Linked DNA regions of Homo sapiens: regions 1, 2, 3, 5 and 6 are each linked to region 4. The links are contacts of gene promoters, found by promoter capture Hi-C in blood cells and fetal thymus (Javierre and others, 2016). All regions are on one chromosome and are shown on one strand. The core of a region is centred on a gene start or on the middle of the fragment in contact, and the rest is flanking DNA. Distances in the headings are between cores, read along the strand shown. Region 1 overlaps LINC00624 (long intergenic non-protein coding RNA 624). Region 2 overlaps BCL9 (BCL9 transcription coactivator). Region 3 has its middle 7.9 kb from the start of BCL9. Region 4 holds the start of GJA8 (gap junction protein alpha 8). Region 5 overlaps LINC00624 (long intergenic non-protein coding RNA 624). Region 6 overlaps BCL9 (BCL9 transcription coactivator).

What was found. The method cuts DNA at HindIII sites, captures the fragments that hold promoters and counts their contacts. A CHiCAGO score of 5 or more calls a contact.
Region 1: a contact is called between a fragment that was not itself captured here and the fragment with the promoter of GJA8 in region 4, in 6 of 17 cell types (erythroblasts, total CD8 T cells, activated CD4 T cells and 3 more). The highest score is 6.8, in erythroblasts.
Region 2: a contact is called between a fragment that was not itself captured here and the fragment with the promoter of GJA8 in region 4, in 1 of 17 cell types (neutrophils). The highest score is 5.2, in neutrophils.
Region 3: a fragment that was not itself captured here is called in contact with the fragment with the promoter of GJA8 in region 4 in 1 of 17 cell types (total CD8 T cells); the score reaches 5.3 in total CD8 T cells.
Region 5: a fragment that was not itself captured here is called in contact with the fragment with the promoter of GJA8 in region 4 in 6 of 17 cell types (naive CD8 T cells, M0 macrophages, M2 macrophages and 3 more); the score reaches 6.2 in naive CD8 T cells.
Region 6: a fragment that was not itself captured here is called in contact with the fragment with the promoter of GJA8 in region 4 in 4 of 17 cell types (naive B cells, neutrophils, naive CD4 T cells and 1 more); the score reaches 5.8 in naive B cells.

Annotation. Positions count from the first base shown.
Region 1 is chr1:147,453,033-147,455,753 of GRCh38, forward strand. All of the region lies in intron 3 of LINC00624 (long intergenic non-protein coding RNA 624), which reads right to left. Among named protein-coding and RNA genes, the nearest start is that of LINC00624, 63 kb to the right of the region's middle. The HindIII fragment of the contact is 937 bases long and covers 850-1,786 here.
Region 2 is chr1:147,551,077-147,553,823 of GRCh38, forward strand. The region is part of intron 1 of BCL9 (BCL9 transcription coactivator); the gene reads left to right. Among named protein-coding and RNA genes, the nearest start is that of BCL9, 11 kb to the left of the region's middle. The HindIII fragment of the contact is 6,253 bases long and covers 1-2,747 here.
Region 3 is chr1:147,532,131-147,535,074 of GRCh38, forward strand. No RefSeq gene overlaps it. Among named protein-coding and RNA genes, the nearest start is that of BCL9, 7.9 kb to the right of the region's middle. The HindIII fragment of the contact is 704 bases long and covers 917-1,620 here.
Region 4 is chr1:147,901,235-147,904,141 of GRCh38, forward strand. It overlaps GJA8 (gap junction protein alpha 8), which reads left to right and starts at 1,561. Exons shown (of 2, transcript NM_005267.5): 1 at 1,561-1,627. The HindIII fragment of the contact is 6,753 bases long and covers 1,303-2,907 here.
Region 5 is chr1:147,473,282-147,476,023 of GRCh38, forward strand. The region is part of intron 3 of LINC00624 (long intergenic non-protein coding RNA 624); the gene reads right to left. Among named protein-coding and RNA genes, the nearest start is that of LINC00624, 43 kb to the right of the region's middle. The HindIII fragment of the contact is 1,139 bases long and covers 864-2,002 here.
Region 6 is chr1:147,574,290-147,577,196 of GRCh38, forward strand. All of the region lies in intron 1 of BCL9 (BCL9 transcription coactivator), which reads left to right. Among named protein-coding and RNA genes, the nearest start is that of BCL9, 34 kb to the left of the region's middle. The HindIII fragment of the contact is 1,910 bases long and covers 309-2,218 here.

The DNA.
Region 1 (2,721 bases), core at 68-2,567, 450 kb before region 4:
ACTGGCCTGCACAATGACCTCTGAATATGCCATCTGGTTCTAGGCACTCATATTATGGGAGAGCTTACAAATAGAAATCTAGGCCAGGTGAAAATAATTCATATATTCATGGCAATAAATTAACTTCACCACAAGCACCTGAAATAATTTGGTTTTCTTTTAGAGAAATTGTCCTACATACTGGTATTCTGAGTGTGTGTGTGAGAGCATGCATGCACGTGTGCGTGTGTGTGGTTTAAGTAGATCAGCAATTTACTGGGCAACATGAACATTTGATTTAAAAATTTTAATCATTGCTTTGTGTTATTGAAATTAAATATAAGTAGATGTTTCCCTGATGTGCTGTAAGGACTTTCAAAAGCACATCAGTTACTCTAGTTTATGCCCATTTTGTTTCTTTTGAGGAAACAAACCCCTTAAGGTTAGTCAACAAAACATTTCATTTATTGCCAAAGCAAAAAAAAAAAAAATTCCTCTTTTAAGACCCCCATGCTTATTTTCCAGAGTTTATACTTACATTTTAAAATTATTTATGCTTAACTTCAGTACCAACTTTCTATTGAAATTTAAATACTTTAAGCTCCTGAAGCCCCTGAGATTTGGAATTTTTAATGAAAGCTGTACTGGCATATTAATCACATGCCTTGAATTCTCAGAATCAAAGATAAGAATGCATTGGCTTTCCAGACTATAGAGCAGTTTGCAAATATAAGATATTATCAGGTATCACTATTAATAATTATTATATGACTTAAACCCTCTGTGCTTCAGTTTATTTATCTCCAAAATGGGTGTGGTAGGTTGTCTTATAGGTTATTATGTGAATCAAATAAGTTAATACATGTAAAAAGCTTAGATGTAATACATGTAAAAAGTTAGCACATAATATAAATTTAACTAGTGCTGGCTATCATTATCTAACGTTTGTTTCTATCCATTACCCAGTTTGAAAAATACTGTTTGAATTCAAGTATGTAAAAATGTTGCATCTTTTCAAAGCAACTCATTGGGTTTTGATTGGATGCATTATACTAAAATCAATTTAATCATTAAAGAAAAACATACTTTGAAACTATTAAGCAAGATTTTTTTTTTTCTGAGATGGAGCCTTACCCTGTTGCCCAGGCTGGAGTGCAGTGGTGTGATCTCGGCTCATTGCAACCTCCGCCCGCCAGGTTCAAGCAATTCTTCTGCCTCAGTCTCCTGAGTAGCTAGGATTACAGGCGTGTGCCACCACGCCCAGCCAATTTTTGTATTTTTAGTAGAGACAGGATTTCACCATGTTGTCCAGGCTGGTCTCCAACTCCTGACCTCGTGATCTGCCCTCCTCGGCCTCCCAAAGTGCTGGGATTACAGGCGTGAGCCACCACGCCCGGCCTAAGCAAGATTCTTTTAAAGCCAATTTTTTGGTACAGAATCAGTCTAAGAAAAATCACCCTCAAATTATTTTTTTCTATGAAATCTATCTATCTCCATGTGATCATGGAGAATAAAGTCATTATTGTACAGGAGAGGGTTTACAATGAGGCTACCTATTCCTAGGAATACGAATTTAAATTCTAAGGGACAAGTGTATATTATATTACAGAAAGTGTCATGCATAGGTGGTGATTGCTAATAATAAATTTTAATGACGATGGTGGTGATTGTCTCAGTCCTTTTTGCATTGCTCTAAAGGAACACCTGATGCTGGGTAGTTCATAAATAAAAGAGTTTTTTTTGGCTTACAGTTCTGCAGGCTGTACAAGAAGCATGGCACCAGCATCTTCTGGTGAGGGTCTCAGGAAGCTTCCAATCATGACAGAAAGGGAAGTGGAGCTGGCATGTAAAGTGGCGAGAGAGAAAGAACGAGAGAGAGGAGGAGATGCCAGGCTTTTTGACAATCAGTCATGACGTGAACTAATAGAATGAGAACTCACTCATTACTGCAAGGATGGCACCAAGCTGTTCATGACAGATTTGCCCCCATGAGCCAAACCTCCCACTAGGCCCCGCTTATAACATCTGGGATCAAATTTCAACATGAAATCTGGAGGGTGAAATATCCAAACTATATCAGGGATGATGAGTAATAAGAAAAAATAAGGCTGGGCACAGTGGCTCACCCTGTAATCCCAACACTTTGGGAGGCTGAGGTTGGCAGACCACTTGAACCCAGGAGTTTGTGATCGGCCTGGGAAACATGTCCAAATCCCGTCTCTGCAAAAAATACAAAAAATTAGCCAGGTGTGGTGGTGCATGCCTGTGGTCCCAGCCACTCAGGAGGCTGAAGTGGGAGGACTGACAGCCTGGGAGGTTGAAGCTGCAGAGAGCCAAGATTGCACCACTGCACTCTAGCCCAGGCAACAGAGCCAACAGAGCAAAACCCTGTCTGGGAAAAAAAAAAAAAGAAAGAAAGAATAAGAAAAAATAGATTCACATTACTACTTATCCCATCTTATCCCCCTGGCCCACAAGAAATTAGATTAGCCAGTCAAACTAAGGAAAAAAAGTTATAGGTAGACATATATAGAGAGATTTTTTTTAATGCCCCATGAATATGTTCCTCAGGAACTGACTTCAACTAATATGAAGTCACATTTCAAGGCGCTTATAATAAGTAGTGTGTGCAACCTCAGAAACCCTATTTTAGAAAATCCCTGAAAATTTATATTCACTTTTCTAATTTAGATATCCATAGACTGGGTGGTGTTTGGATCAGTTTCCCAAAGTAAACTCTTA
Region 2 (2,747 bases), core at 113-2,612, 350 kb before region 4:
AATGAGGAGACAATAATAATAATTGAGTATTTGCTATGTGCCACACACTGAGCTAAACTCTTCCAGGCATTGTCTCATTCAAACTGCGATAGGTGCTATTAATACCTTCATCTCATAGTTGAGGACACTGCGGTCTAGAGAGTATAACTTGCCCAACATCATCCAATTAGTAAGTGACAACTAGAGTGTAAGTCTATCTAAAGCTGGGTCAGTCTGACCGCAAAGGATTTCCAAAGTCATATAATTGCTAAGTGACTGAGTCAAGGCTCAGGTCTTGTTAAGGGCAGTACTTCTTCAGTGCACAGCCAAAGGTACATGCTGATTGAATGAAGGATAGTGGCAGGCACACACCTATTAGGGTCTCTGACTCTGAGTGCCATGGTTAGTCAAGGATAAGTTTTGGATAGGGTACTGTTACGGTTCAGCTGTTCCCTCCATAACTTATGTTCAAATTTAATTGCCATTATGACAGTATTAACAGGTAAGACCTTTAAGAGGCGGAGAGGTCATAAGGGCTTCATCCTCATGAATGGATTAGCACTGTTATCTTGGGAGTGGGTTAGTTATCAAGGGAGTGGGCTCCCGATAAAAGGATGAATTTGGCCCCCATTTTCCCTCTGCCATGCCCACATGTTCACTCACCATGTGATGCCTTCTGCTATGGAGTGACCCTCACAAGATGTGGCCCCTTAATCTTGGACTTTCCAGACTCTAGCAAATAAATTTCTTTTCTTTATAAATGACGCAGTCTGTGGTATCCTGTTACAGCAGCAGAAAATGGACTAAGGTATAGACTTTTAAAAGTTTTAATAATTTAAATATGTCAAAATAAGGTCTCTGAGACCTGAGGAAGTGATTTAACAAATATGATAAATATCTGTTGTATGTCAGGCAATGAAAATTAGCTTGGCATTGTGGGGTGCAAGATGACTGAGGCTTGAATCCCTACCTTTAAGGTGCTTTCATCCTGGTGGAGAGAGACAGATATTCACAGAACTAATTATAAAGCATATACCAATGGATCAAAAGAACTGTGGTAGTCACGGGAGAGAACAATTAATTTGGTGGTGAAGGGAATAATGGTGGAAGGAATTGGGGAACACTTCATGAAGGAGATGACATTTGCAATGGTCCTTGAGGGATGAATGTGGAAGTACTAGACGTCTTCTATAGTTTAGTTTTTCTTCACACCAGTGGTTTTATAAAGGGTGATATAAAGTAGCATTGTAATGACTGAATAATAGATTGAGGCCAGGTGCAGTGGCTCACACCTGTAATCTTAGCACTTTGGGAGGCCAAGGCGGGTGGAACAACTGAGGTCAGGAGTTCGAGACCACCCTGACCAACATGGAAACCCTGTCTCTACTAAAAAATACAAAATTAGCCAGGCGTGGTGGCGCATGCCTGTAATCCCAGCTACTCGGGAGACTGAGGCAGGAGAATCACTTGAACCCAGGAGGCAGAGGTTGCAGTGAGCTGAGATCGCACCATTGCACTCCAGCCTGGGCAAAAAGAGTGAAACTCTGTCTCAAAAAATAAAACAAACAAACAAACGAAAAGATTAACAGATAATAATGCTTTTAAAGATTAGTTTCCTTGAGTGAAAGCAGAGAAATATCCACTCTTACTAACCATAAGACTATATTGGCATTTTCCTAGTCTGTACTTACCCAGAGTTCTGTTGAAGGAATCACACAATGAAATACCCTGTTCTACGCTTTCTAGGTTTGGGTTCTAGAGTTGAACAGCAATCTAACAAGGGCCTATAAATCCCTGGTGTGACCATATGGGACACTAGTGTGAGTTCTTGTGCAGTACAAAGGAGTACTAAGGTACTGACAGATGGGTCATTTATTCATCTACTCTTTGAGATTTTAGTCTGCAGTTGGGAATTTCCAATTTTTTTTTTTTTACATACAATACCAGGCTTTCTGGATTTGGTGGTTTTTTTGGAGACAGTCCTAATTTAAAACATTCTGCCTTGTCTCCATAAGTATATTCATGATTAGTAGTCAGTATATTCTGGTGGTTGTTTCAGGTTGTTCAGTTATATTGAGTTTCTACATCCGAATCCTGTTTAAAGAGGGCCTAGTAGACATCTTCTGCATTATGGACTTTGTTCACTTGCTGTGACAAAGTGCATACTGACTGGTCTTTACACTGTAAGGTAGAACCTCAGCTAAGCTCTCTTATTCTGTTTTGGTTTGGTTCTTTACTTAGCTTCTCTTTTCCCAAACTCTGCAGATGGACATTAGACTCATTCTTATTTCAAGGACTGGCTCAAATGTCACATTCTGCACGGTCTTTTTCAATTCCTAGAGCCAGAGGACTCTTGCATCCATGCTATATTCTACTTTGCTTAGAATGATCATATTAGCTATATGTGTTCACTATCACAAATCCCTTAATAGAGAGTAAACCAGAGGGTAAGGATTTAGGTCCTGTTCACCTCTGCATCTCCAAGAGCATCCAGCAGAGTTCCTCTCCTTACAAGTGGTTGTGCTCAGAGATGTTTATTGAACTCAACTGAATTGAATTCTTGGCTTCATTGGATTTGCTTTGAGTATGGTAACATTGATGTCTGTGCCCTAGTTCCCTTTTGGAAAAGAAATGCTGCCTTAAAAATAAAAAGCATCTTAACTGATTTTGGGATGAAAGACACCATGTAATATAAGCAGTAATTGTAATTATTATTAATAAGCATCATTAAAATAGTATGAACTGATAGGATTACTTCCTTTGCTTGC
Region 3 (2,944 bases), core at 19-2,518, 370 kb before region 4:
TTTAAGCTTTGCAGACCATACGGTCTCCGTTGCAGCTACTTAATGCTGTGGTTGTAGTGCAAAAGCAACCATAGACAATATGTGAATAAATGAGAGTGGCCATGTTCCAATAAAACTTTTTTTTTTGAGACAAGGTCTTACTCTGTTGTCAAGTACAGTCGTGCCATCATAGCTCCCTGTAACCTGGAACTCCTGGGCTCAAACCATCCTCTTGCCTCAGCCTCCTGAGTAGCTGGGACTACAGGCATGCACCACCATGCCTGGCTAATTTTTAATTTTTTTGTAGAAATGAGGTCTTACTATGTTGCCCAGGCTGGTCTTGAACTCCTAGCTTCAAGTGATCCTCCCACCTCTGCCTACCAAAACGTTGGGATTACAGGTGTCAGCCACCATGCCCAACCCCAATACAACTTTATGGAGATTGATATTTGAATTTCCTATAATTTTCAGGTGCCATGAAATATTCTTTTAATTTTTTTCCAACCACTATTTAAAAATGTAATAACCATTCTGAGCTTGCTGTACTGTGTAAAAACAGGTGGCTGGCTGGATTTGGCCTGTAGGTCACAGGGAGCAAACTAGCTTGCCATTCTGGAGCCAGGTTGAAGATTAGAGGGGCAATGAAGCGTAGAAGTAACATCTTAATATAACCTCCGTCCCTTTTCAGTGAGAAGCGCCTTTTCCTCTTCTTGAGATGCACGATCCCACCACACCTGTTAAAATCCCCCTGAAGAATTAAAAGTTGCTGCCTCCTCAGAGTCCTCTCAGCACTTCTTTATAGTATATACTAAACACTGGGTGTCCCCCATACCAAAATTCCTATGAAGCCTCAAACTCCTTGCGTGTTCAATTTACTGCTGTTCATCCAGAACTAGCACAGTGCTTGGCAACTGAGAAGGGTTGGGTTGAACCACAAAGCTTCACTTTCACTCTATTGGTGCAAGCAAAAGGAATCCATTAGAACCAGTCTAGGGGGAGGGAGAAAGGGGAATCATTTAGAACTAGGAACATCTTAGTGTGCCTAAATTCAGGAAACCTCCACCAGGGCTTCGGGCTTCATTCTGTCTCTCTCTCTCTCTCTCTCTCTCTCTCTCTCTCTCTCTCTCTCTCTCTCTCTCTGGCTTGGGCCACATGGATTCTTATCTCTTTGTCTCTGAGTGGGTCTATTTCTTTTTTTTTTTCCTCATCAGTTTTATCAGTTCAAGAACTAATAGAGATCAACTAGCTTCCGTGAACCCTACTTTTAAATATCTGGGAGAAGGCCAGGCACCGTGACTCATGCCTGTAATCCCAGCACTTAGGGAGGCCGAGGTGGGTAGATCTCCTGAGGTTAGGAGTTCGATACCAGCCTGGTCAACATGGTGAAAGCCCGTCTCTTCTAAAAATTCAAAAATTAACCAGGCATGGTGATGTGTGCCTGTAATCTCAACTACTCAGGGGCCGAGGCAGGAGAATCGCTTGAACCCGGAGGCGGAGGTTACAGTGAGCTGAGATCGCACCACTGTACTCCAGCCTGAGAGACAGAGCTAGACTCTGTCTCAAAATAAATAAATAAATTTATGGGAGAGAGAATCTGATTGGCCAGGGAAACTGGTCATACAGTATAAATATAAGTGCAGAAGCTTAACTGAACAGGTAGTCTAGGGATTATTTTCCAAAAACAGAGGGAATGTGTTGTGCAGGCACTTCAAAATGCCTATAATACTTGCTGGCTTCATTTATTTCATGATGGCTGTGTCATGGTTACTAGTGTACATCTTTCTCTTTTCTACTATCTAGATGAAATGCTCCTTTAGAACAGGGAAAAAGTCTTCCTCATTTTGGTGTCCCCAGACCTAGCACAGTCTTTTGCACGTAATAGGTAATAGCAAACACTTATTGAACTGAATGAAAAACACTACCTTCTATTCAGCCTTTCATGCATCTTTCATCTTTATGAAAGGTACACATTCCATTGCTAGGCAAAAGACATGGTATAAAAGATAAATTTCCTTTTCCTGGCTTCAGTACTGCTTTTTATTAAATTGTCTTTAGCTCAGATAATTGCATTATTTCCATTTTAGGTTTTCAGAGGTCAAACAACCTCAGATCCAGATGTACTATGAATGCAACTATAATAGTTTCAGAGCAATTATCTCCATCTAGCTCTGTAGGGCAGAACAACTCGAACTCTGGAGCCCAGCTGGTGAGAAATCCTTTTATACATAGCCCTCTCAGAATCAGTCCAAACTGAATTCAAGATTAGTTTCAGCAGAGAATCTACTTAGCTGTGGCTAGTGGCCTAGGTAGCTGTTGCCTCTGCAGGCATCTAAGCAGCCCTGAGAACAGCTGAGTGCCCCAGGTCATACCTGAAACTCTCTGCCCATTAACCAAGGCCAGCGTAAGCTCATGTTCAACACCATTGCAGCAGCCAAGGTCAATCAGAAGAAGCAGTCTCTTTCTGGCGAATGAGTCACTGCAAATGGCTGGAGAGTTTCTCTCCATAGTTTATTACATCTCCTCTGATCTGCTCCCCTGGGGGAGAAGTTGGTTCATTGTTTACCAAAATCAGTTGCTCCCACTGGTGTCTCTGCTGCCTCTTTCTGCTCTGATGAGCTGCAAGCTTCAGGCAGAAGCATATTTCAGGGAAGGGGCGTTACAAACACAGCCCATAGCAAATGCAACTTGTTCTAGTTTGTGCCTTCCTTGCTTTGGCTCATATCAATTCATAAGGCCTTTTTCAGAGTGTTCTAAGCTCCTTTCCACATCTTCATTAGAAGGAGTTTAGGACAGGACAAAGTGGCTTTTCTGTCCTACTGAAATATCAGTTGTATTATTACACATATACCATGTTCATAATAGACATTCTAAGACTTTCATATCTGGGGTTCTAATAAGGTACAATCCTGGCTGCTCCTTCTGCAAGAGGAGCACTTGAGGATTCACAGTGTTCACAAGAGGAACA
Region 4 (2,907 bases), core at 311-2,810:
TGATGGGACGGGAGTGGGCCTCAGAGAGCATATGTCCATGCCCTCCAAGCATCATTCCTCATTAAGCCACATTAGAATTTAATCCAAGAGCCTCCTGGTGAGCAAAACCATCATATCCCCATTTAACAGATGAAGGCACTAAAGTCTAAAAATGTTAGCTGACATTGATTGAACTTCCGCTACTCAAAAGTATATGTAATTATAAGTGAAACGTGGTGAGAAAGGCTATTACTTTGACAAATGGCACCAGAATTCTTTGGAGTGTTAAGGCTCCTTTCAAAGAGGGAGACCACCCTGCTGAAGGTTTGTTTGTGTTTCTTTTTTATTGTTTTGATCTTTTTAGAAAGCTCTTTCCTTTTATGTTTAGTTGACACATAATAATTGTACGTATTTGTGATACACAGTGATATTTCAATACATGTATACAATGTGTAATGATCAAATCAGGATAATTAGCATATTCAGCATCTCAAACATTTATCATTTCTTTCTGTTGGGAACAATCAAAATCCTCTCCTCTAGCTTTTTGAGACTATACAATAAAATAGTTAACGGCCAGGCATGGTCGCTCATGCTTGTAATCCCAGCATTTGGGGAGGCCAAGGCGGGCAGATCGCCTGAGGTCAGGAGTCTGAGGCCAGCCTGGCCAACATGGTGAAACCCCGTCTCTACTAAAAATAGAAAAAAAAAAATTAGCTGGGCGTGGTTGTGGGTGTCTGTTATCCCAGCTACTCAGGAGGCTGAGGCAGGAGAATAACTTGAACCTGAGAGGCAGAGGTTGCAGTGAGCTAAGATCGTGACATTGCACTCCAGCCTGGGTGGCAGAGCGAGACTCTGTCTCACACACACACAAAAATATAAAAATTAAAATAATTAATTAATTAATGTTAACCATATTCACCCTACAGCACTGCAGACCACCAGAACCCATTCCCCCTATCTAGCTGTGCTTTTGTATCTATTAGCAACATGCTCCCCATCCTTCCTTCCGCCACTACACTTCCCAGCCTCTAATATCCACAATTCTGCTGAAGGCTTTGAGAGACAAGAGCAAACCACCAATAAAAAATGAAATATGGTCCTTTGGAAAGGACCAACCACTCTTGGTGTGACTCAGGGCAGAGGGATTCACACAACTGACCACTTACTGTCCCTACATCATTAAGATTCTCCCAGCTGATGATAAGGCCTTGGGAAAATGCCCCTAGGCTCATGCGCTCTGGAGAGACGCCAAAGGTTTACTGATGTACAGGCCCAGTCTGCTGCTAAAAGAAACTTTGGGAGGCACAGAAGCCCCAGCTAAGCTTTCACACATCAGCTTTCCCCATCCTCCTCCCCTCAGTGCCCAACACAGCTCTCCCATTCTCTCACTCCCATTGTTTCCCAAACATCCCTCCCTTCATAAAAGCTGTCTGGCTGGGAGCTTAAAATATTGCTGGACAGTAAAACCTACCCATCAGGGCCAATCCAGTCATATCTGCTCAGTCGTGCAGCACAGTAGGGGCGGGGTAGAGAAGTGGGAGGTGGGCTTTTAGGCAGCAAAGGAAAGAGACGAAAGTTGCCATTTTGCTGCTGAGCGCCAAGAGAGAAAGAGCACATATTTCTCCGTGGGACACTCCTTGTATTGGCAAGTTTTCCTTGGGTGATATTAGTTTGTAACCTTCCCCCCAATTGTTCTTTCTCAGCCTAATCTAAGGGCCATATATAGGCTTCTCCAAAAGGAAAAAGGTTGCCAATAAGATTCAGTCTTGGGCTGGGATGGCTAGACTTACACTCCAACTCTGAAAACCCTCTTCAAGTTGACCTAAGAACTGGCAGAGGTTTGGAAGGGAGAGGAATGCTGGAATAATCAGCAGGATGGGGAAACAGAGATGTCCAAACTCAAACTACAATTTGACTTCTTAAGCTCTTTTCATGTCTACAGGAATCCACAGGGACCTAAACCAAGTATTTGATATTTATGAAAAAGTTTTGTGCCCTTTTCACTCAAATTCTACAATAGAAATAATAGTCATAATTACTGAATGCTGTGGGGGTAGCGGAGGCTTCGTGCTCAGCATTTTCCATGTTGGAGCATTTAATGGAGCACAGGAAGGGATCTGGCTAAGGACCATAAAATTCCTCCTAGGAGCAGGTTCTGTTGTCTATCTATGAGAACTGCTGGCTAGTGGCTGTTCTAGAAACTAGAAAAGAGGCACTTTCCACCTGGTTACCAACCAGAGTGGTAAGTGGCCATTGAACGCTTTGGATAACTTATTAATGGATGTATATGTGTTATTCTGCCTCTTCAAAACCAGAGGAGGGCTATGCTGTAATGGGCTTAGATCTAGAAGACCAGGGCTCACAGCCTAGCTCTGCCCTCACTAGCTAAGCCCCCATCTTGGAGACTCATTTCACCTCCCAGCCTGTCTTTTTGTCTGGTAATGGGGATTGATAATGCCAAGTTCACTGGTTCTCAGACATCCATCTGGGGATCTGTCAGTTCTAGCTCAAGATGAAGGTTTCCACAACCTGTGACCAAAATGTGACAATGATAAAGTTAACAATGTAGTAAATGTTTCACCAAGTTAAGTGTGTTCAATTTAAAGGCTTGTCTTTTATTCTGAAGTTATGTCCTCTCCAGTTTTGTGGTGTTAAAATCCCCTTTTATGAAATGATGATGAAAATAGACTGTAGTTGTAGTTAGTAATTTAATAACTCTTTTTTTTTTTTTTTGAGACAGAGTCTCGCTGTGTTGCCCAGGCTGGAGTGCAGTGGTGTGATCTCAGCTCACTGCAGCCTCCACCTCCTGGGCTCAAGCAATTCTCCTGCCCCAGCCTCCCAAGTAGCTGGGATTACAGGTGCCCCACCACCGTGCCCAGCTAATTTTTGTATTTTTAGTAGAGATAGGGTTTCACCCTGTTGGCC
Region 5 (2,742 bases), core at 183-2,682, 430 kb before region 4:
TATTTTGTCTGCTATGTTAATCTGTGATTATTGATCTTTGGTGTGACTATTTTAATTGTTTGAGGTGCAAAAACCACACTCTTATAAGATGGCAAACCTAATCGATTAATGTTGTGTGTGTTCTGACTGTTCTACCAACTCACCATTCCCCTGTTCATCTCTCCCCCTCTCCAAAGGCCTCCTTATTTCCTAAGACACACCAATATTGAAATTAGGCCAATAATAACTCTCCAATGGCCTCTAAGTGTTCAAGTAAAAGGAAGTGTCACATGTCTCTCATCTTAAATCAAAAGCTAGAAATGATTAAGCTAAGTAACTAGTAAATGATTAAGCATGTCAAAAGCTGAGATAAGCCAAAATCTATGCCTCTTGCACCAAATAGTTAGCCAGGTAGTGAATGCAAAGGAAAAGTTCTCAAAGGAAACTAAAAGCACTACTCCAGTGAACATGTGAATAAGAAGAAAATGTCATAACCTCATTGTTAATATGGAGAAAGTTTTAGTGGTCTGGGTGGAAGATCAAACCAGCCACAACATTCCCTTAAGCCAAAGCCTAACCCAGAGGAAGGCCCTTACTCCCTTCAGTTCTATGAAGGCTAAGAGAGGTGAGAAAGCTGCAAAAGAAAAGTTTGAAGCTATCAGAGTTTGGTGTTTATAACATAAAAGTACAAAGTGAAGCAGCCAGTGCTGATGTGGAAGCTGCAGCAAGTTGTCAAGATTTAGCTAAGATAATTGAGGAAGGTGGCTACACTAAACAACAAATTTTCAATGTAGATGAAACAACCTTCACCCACATTGATGAAGATGGAAGAACATGTCATCTAGGACTTTCATAGCTAGAGAGAAGTCAATGCCTGGCTTCAAAGCTTCAAAGGCCGTGCTGATAGTCTACTGCAGCTGGTAACTTTAAGCTGAAGCCAATGCTCATTTACCATTCTGCAAATCCTAGGGCTCTTAAGAATTATGCTAAACCTGGCCAGGTGCAGTGGCTCAAGCCTGTAATCCTAGCACTTTGGGAGGCCAAGGCGGGAGGATCACGAGGTTAGAAGATCGAGACCATCCTGGCTAATGCGGTGAAACCCCGTCTCTACTAAAAATACAAAAAAATTAGCTGGGCGTGGTGGCGGGCGCCTGTAGTCCCAGCTACTCAGGAAGCTGAGGTAGGAGAATGGCGTGAACCCAGGAGGCGGAGCTTGCAGTGAGCTGAGATCGCACCACTGCACTCCAGCCTGGGTGACAGAGCAAGACTCCATTTCAAAAAAAAAAAGAATTATGCTAAACCTGCCCTGCCTGTGCCCTGTAAATACAACAATAAAGCCTGGATAATGGCACATTTGTTGACGGTGTGATTTACTGAACATTTTAAGCCCACCGTTGAGACTTACTGCTTAAAAAAAAATCTATTCCAAAATATTACTCATTGACAATTCACATGGCCATCCAAGAGCCTGATAGAGATATATAATGAGATCAGTGTTGTTGTCATGCCTGCTAACACGACCACCATTTTACAGCCCATGTACCAGGGAGTAATTTTGCCTTCAAGTCTTATTATTTAAGAAATACAGTTTGTAAAGCTCTAGTTGCCGTAGATAGTGACTCCTCTGATGGATCTGGGCAAAATAAATTGTAAGTCCTCTGGAAAGGATTCACTATTCTAGACGCTATTAAGAACATTTGTGATTCTTAGGAGGTCAAAAATGTCAAAGTGAACAGGATTTTGGAAGAAGTTAATTCTAACTCTCATGGATGACTTTGGAGGGTTCAAGACTTTGATGGAGGAAGTAACTGCGAATATGGTGGATGTAGCAAGAGAACTAGAATTAGGAGTAGAAACTGAAGATGTAACCAAATTGCTTCAATGTCATGATAAAATTTGAATGGACAAAAAGTTGGTTCTTACGGATAAGCAAAGAAAGCAGTTTCTTGAGATGGAATCTACTCCTGGTGAGGATACTATGAACATTGTTTAACTGTAATCAAAGGACTTAGAATGTTACATAAGCTTAGTTAATAAAGCAGCAATAGGGTTTCAGAGGATTGACTCCAATTTTGAAAGGCCTTCTCCTGTGGGTAAAATGCTATCAAATGGCATCATATGCTACAGAAAAATCTTTTGTGAAAGGAAGAATCCATCAATGTAGCAAACTTTATTGGTCTCTTATGTTACCAAATTGCCACAGCCACCTTAACCTTTAGCAACCACCACCCTGATCAATCAGTAGCCAACACCGAGGCAAGACTCTTCACTAGCAAAAATATTAAGACTTGCTGAAGGCTCAGAAGATTAGTATTTTTAGCAATAAATTAAGGTATGTACATTGTTTTTATACATAATGCTACTGCACACTTAACAGACCACAGTATAGTGTAAACATAACTTTCATATGCACTGGAAAACCAAAAAATTCGTATGACTCATTTTATTGAAATATTTGCTTTGTTGCAGTGGTCTGAAACCAAACCTGCAACGCTGTTGAGGTATGCCTGTATTTCTTTGGACCTTCTAGGCTTATTATATTTCTACCATTTAAATTTAGCTTTAGGAATTGTTGCATTTTAACTTCAGTATCAAGTTTCTATTGAATAATAAATACTTCAAAAGATCCTGGAGACTCTGAGATTTGGAATTTTTAATAAAAGCTACGTTTGCCTATTAATCATGTGTCTTGAATGCTTGGAATAAAGAATAAGTAGCGTGCATTATTTTTCATGTGCTTTAAATATTTCAAAGTATTTTTAA
Region 6 (2,907 bases), core at 14-2,513, 330 kb before region 4:
CCCTTCCTGACACCGCAGTTGTCATTTGTGGAAGAACGTAGTGCAATGTGAGTGGACAATGTTTTTACAGTATTTGTTTCACCGTATAGGAGAATCTGTGTAGACAAATGAAGAACCTACTGCCATTTAGGACCAGAATTCCAGAGGAACCAACCATCTGTGCACCTCCATGTCAGGGGAAGGTGTTTTATTTCCAGTGTGAAATGCCAAATAGTCCAGGAATGATAAAATCACCCTAGTTTTTCTTATGAACTCCTAGAAGTCATCTTTGTTGGTATAAATGAGATCATTTAGCCTAATTAGTTCCAAGCTTAATTAGCAGTAATTATCCCAACATGGGAGTAATATCCGAGCAGGAAGTGCCGAGTCCTCGATTAGATAGATCTCTAATTGGTGTTACAATATTGTAATTAAAGCGTGTTTGTACGCCTCTGCCACAGCACGCGATTTGTTTCATGTCTGATTAAACAGAGAGACCCAGCAGCCTTTGAAGGGGCCAAAATTTTAGATCTGACTCACATAACATGTTAACCCTGTGACAAAAAAGATATGGGGACCTACCTCAGTGGCCAAGGTGAGTGTACAGCTCTGAGCCAAAGGCATTTTTCCAGAGAGGATGAGCCCTTGGTCTACTCCACACTTTGACTCCCATGTAGCAAGTATAGGAAAACAGAAGTATATGGTTGAGGGGCCACTTTGTAACTTTTAAACCTTTGAGGGCTGACTCATATATAACCAGAGAAGACTGTACAAAAAAGACGAATAATAATAGCTACTGTTTATTGAGCATTTACTATGTGCTGGATGCTGTGCTAAATGCTTTCAATATCAAATTCATTAAAACTTCAAAAAGCCCTCTGAGGCAGCTATTACAGTCCCTGTTTTACAAATAAGGACCTGAAGATGAGGGAGTTGCTTCACCCAACTAAGTCTGTGTTACCCTTCAGGTCTTGCCTTGAGCATCACTCCTCTAGAAAGCTACTTCTGATCCCTAGACCATGTTGGTTTCCTGACACAGCTCCTTGTAATTTTCCTTCATACACTTTAATATAATTTCATTGTCTGCCTTTCCCACCAAACCATAAGCTCATTTTTGCCTTGTTCACTGCTTTTGCCCAGTGCCCAACACCAAGCTAAGTGCCAGCAATGTAGCAGGTGTTCGAGGAGTAAGAGCCAAATGAATTGTCAGAAGTTACCCAACTGACAGGTTGGATGATTTGAACCCAACTCTGTGTGATTCTGTAGTCCTGTGTTTTCCATTACATCATGCTTCCTTTTTTTTAATGTTAAAAACTCCAAAGTTTCTAGGTAGCAAAACTATAATAAACATGTATTTTGAGGAAGGATAGGGGAATAGAGATTTTCTTTCCTCTCATTTCAAAGTGCTGTTTAAAAATTTTGCAATACATGCCTTAACCATTCACTATATTTATCTACTTAATGCTTCAGCCTGATGTTATAATTTAGATTTTTGTGTGCATATTCAAATAATTGGTCATTGAATTTAATAAGCCCAAGAGAATTAGAGTAAACTAATGTGATGTATAAATGCAGGTAGAACTTATATGCATTTATACATCACTGGATTCTGCAATCTTTAAAAATGTACCTAACACTTTCAGAATCTGTATTTCAGTGATTCCCAGCTGTGGTTTTGGCACACCCTAAGAATCTCCAGTTATTTTGAATGATGACATAAAATTCTCAGTTTTTTTTTCAAATTAACTTTTTTGGATATTTAAAAGAAAACATGCCACATGATGCATTGCGGGGGAATAAGAAACAGGCTAGATCAGAATGGAGCCAATGCCTTTGACCCTTGGGAAATCATTGCTATTTAATCTTGGTCACTGCTGAAATATATTCAGGGATTAAGAACCTTAACAAGAATTTTTGTTTATTCTTTAAAAAAGTTTTAACATAATTATTAAAAATTAGTAGATGATACTTGCACAAAGTATAAAATTCACAAAAATGTCTAAGTGAAAAGGCCCCTTCCACCTTTCTCTCATCTCCCGGCCACTCTAGAGATAATCAGTTTTGCATATCTTTCTGGAATATTCTATGCATACGCAAATATATCATTTTAAAGGTATTATTTCTTGGTAAAACACCGGAGTGCACACTGACTCATAAAGGTCAATTCGTTCACTTTTCAGTTTAAGCAAAGATAAAAAGTTATAATGAGAAATTCACTACATAGAAACCAAAGGCACAAAGCTTTGAAGTCTATTTTCTTGTAAAACTATTACTAAACATTGTGGTGATATACTGTAATGAAATATGGTACTAATGAAGGAGAAATGCTGCTTGACTTATGACAATAATGGTATCCAGTGTGGGTCCTGAATCTTCCTGAGTTTTCTGTTCTGATTAACTCCTAGATGATGTTTCTGTGTGGCGATTTATCTCAATACCAGCAATAAAGAAGCCAAGCTGATAGGTTCCAGTCACTGTAGGGAACTTATGTGAGGAAACTTACTGCTGGTCTCTTGTCACTTTCTCACCCGCCTCCTCTGGTGACCTTAAGTTGCCTACAGTGTGCAAAATAATGTAAAGACGATACCTTTTATATCAACAGACATTTCTCTTTTGACTGTAATAGGTTTGCAGAATCTATCCGTTATCGTCAAAAGAGAAATGCCTGTTGATATAAAAGGTACCATCATTACGTTATTTTGTGTGGACAGGGCTTGATGAATCTTTGGATGATGATTTTAGTGCAAGAAAATTCACAAAGCTTCCTGCAGTTAGTACGCTATATTTTTTTTTATTGTTTCTGGCTTTTGAATAATCAGAAGTGATCGAACCAAGAAATTAAAATAATTGAATTGCATTTGGACAAGCCTACAGATAAACTGGGTTTAAGTAGTTGCAGCATGAGTATCTTACGATACCCAAGGAGTA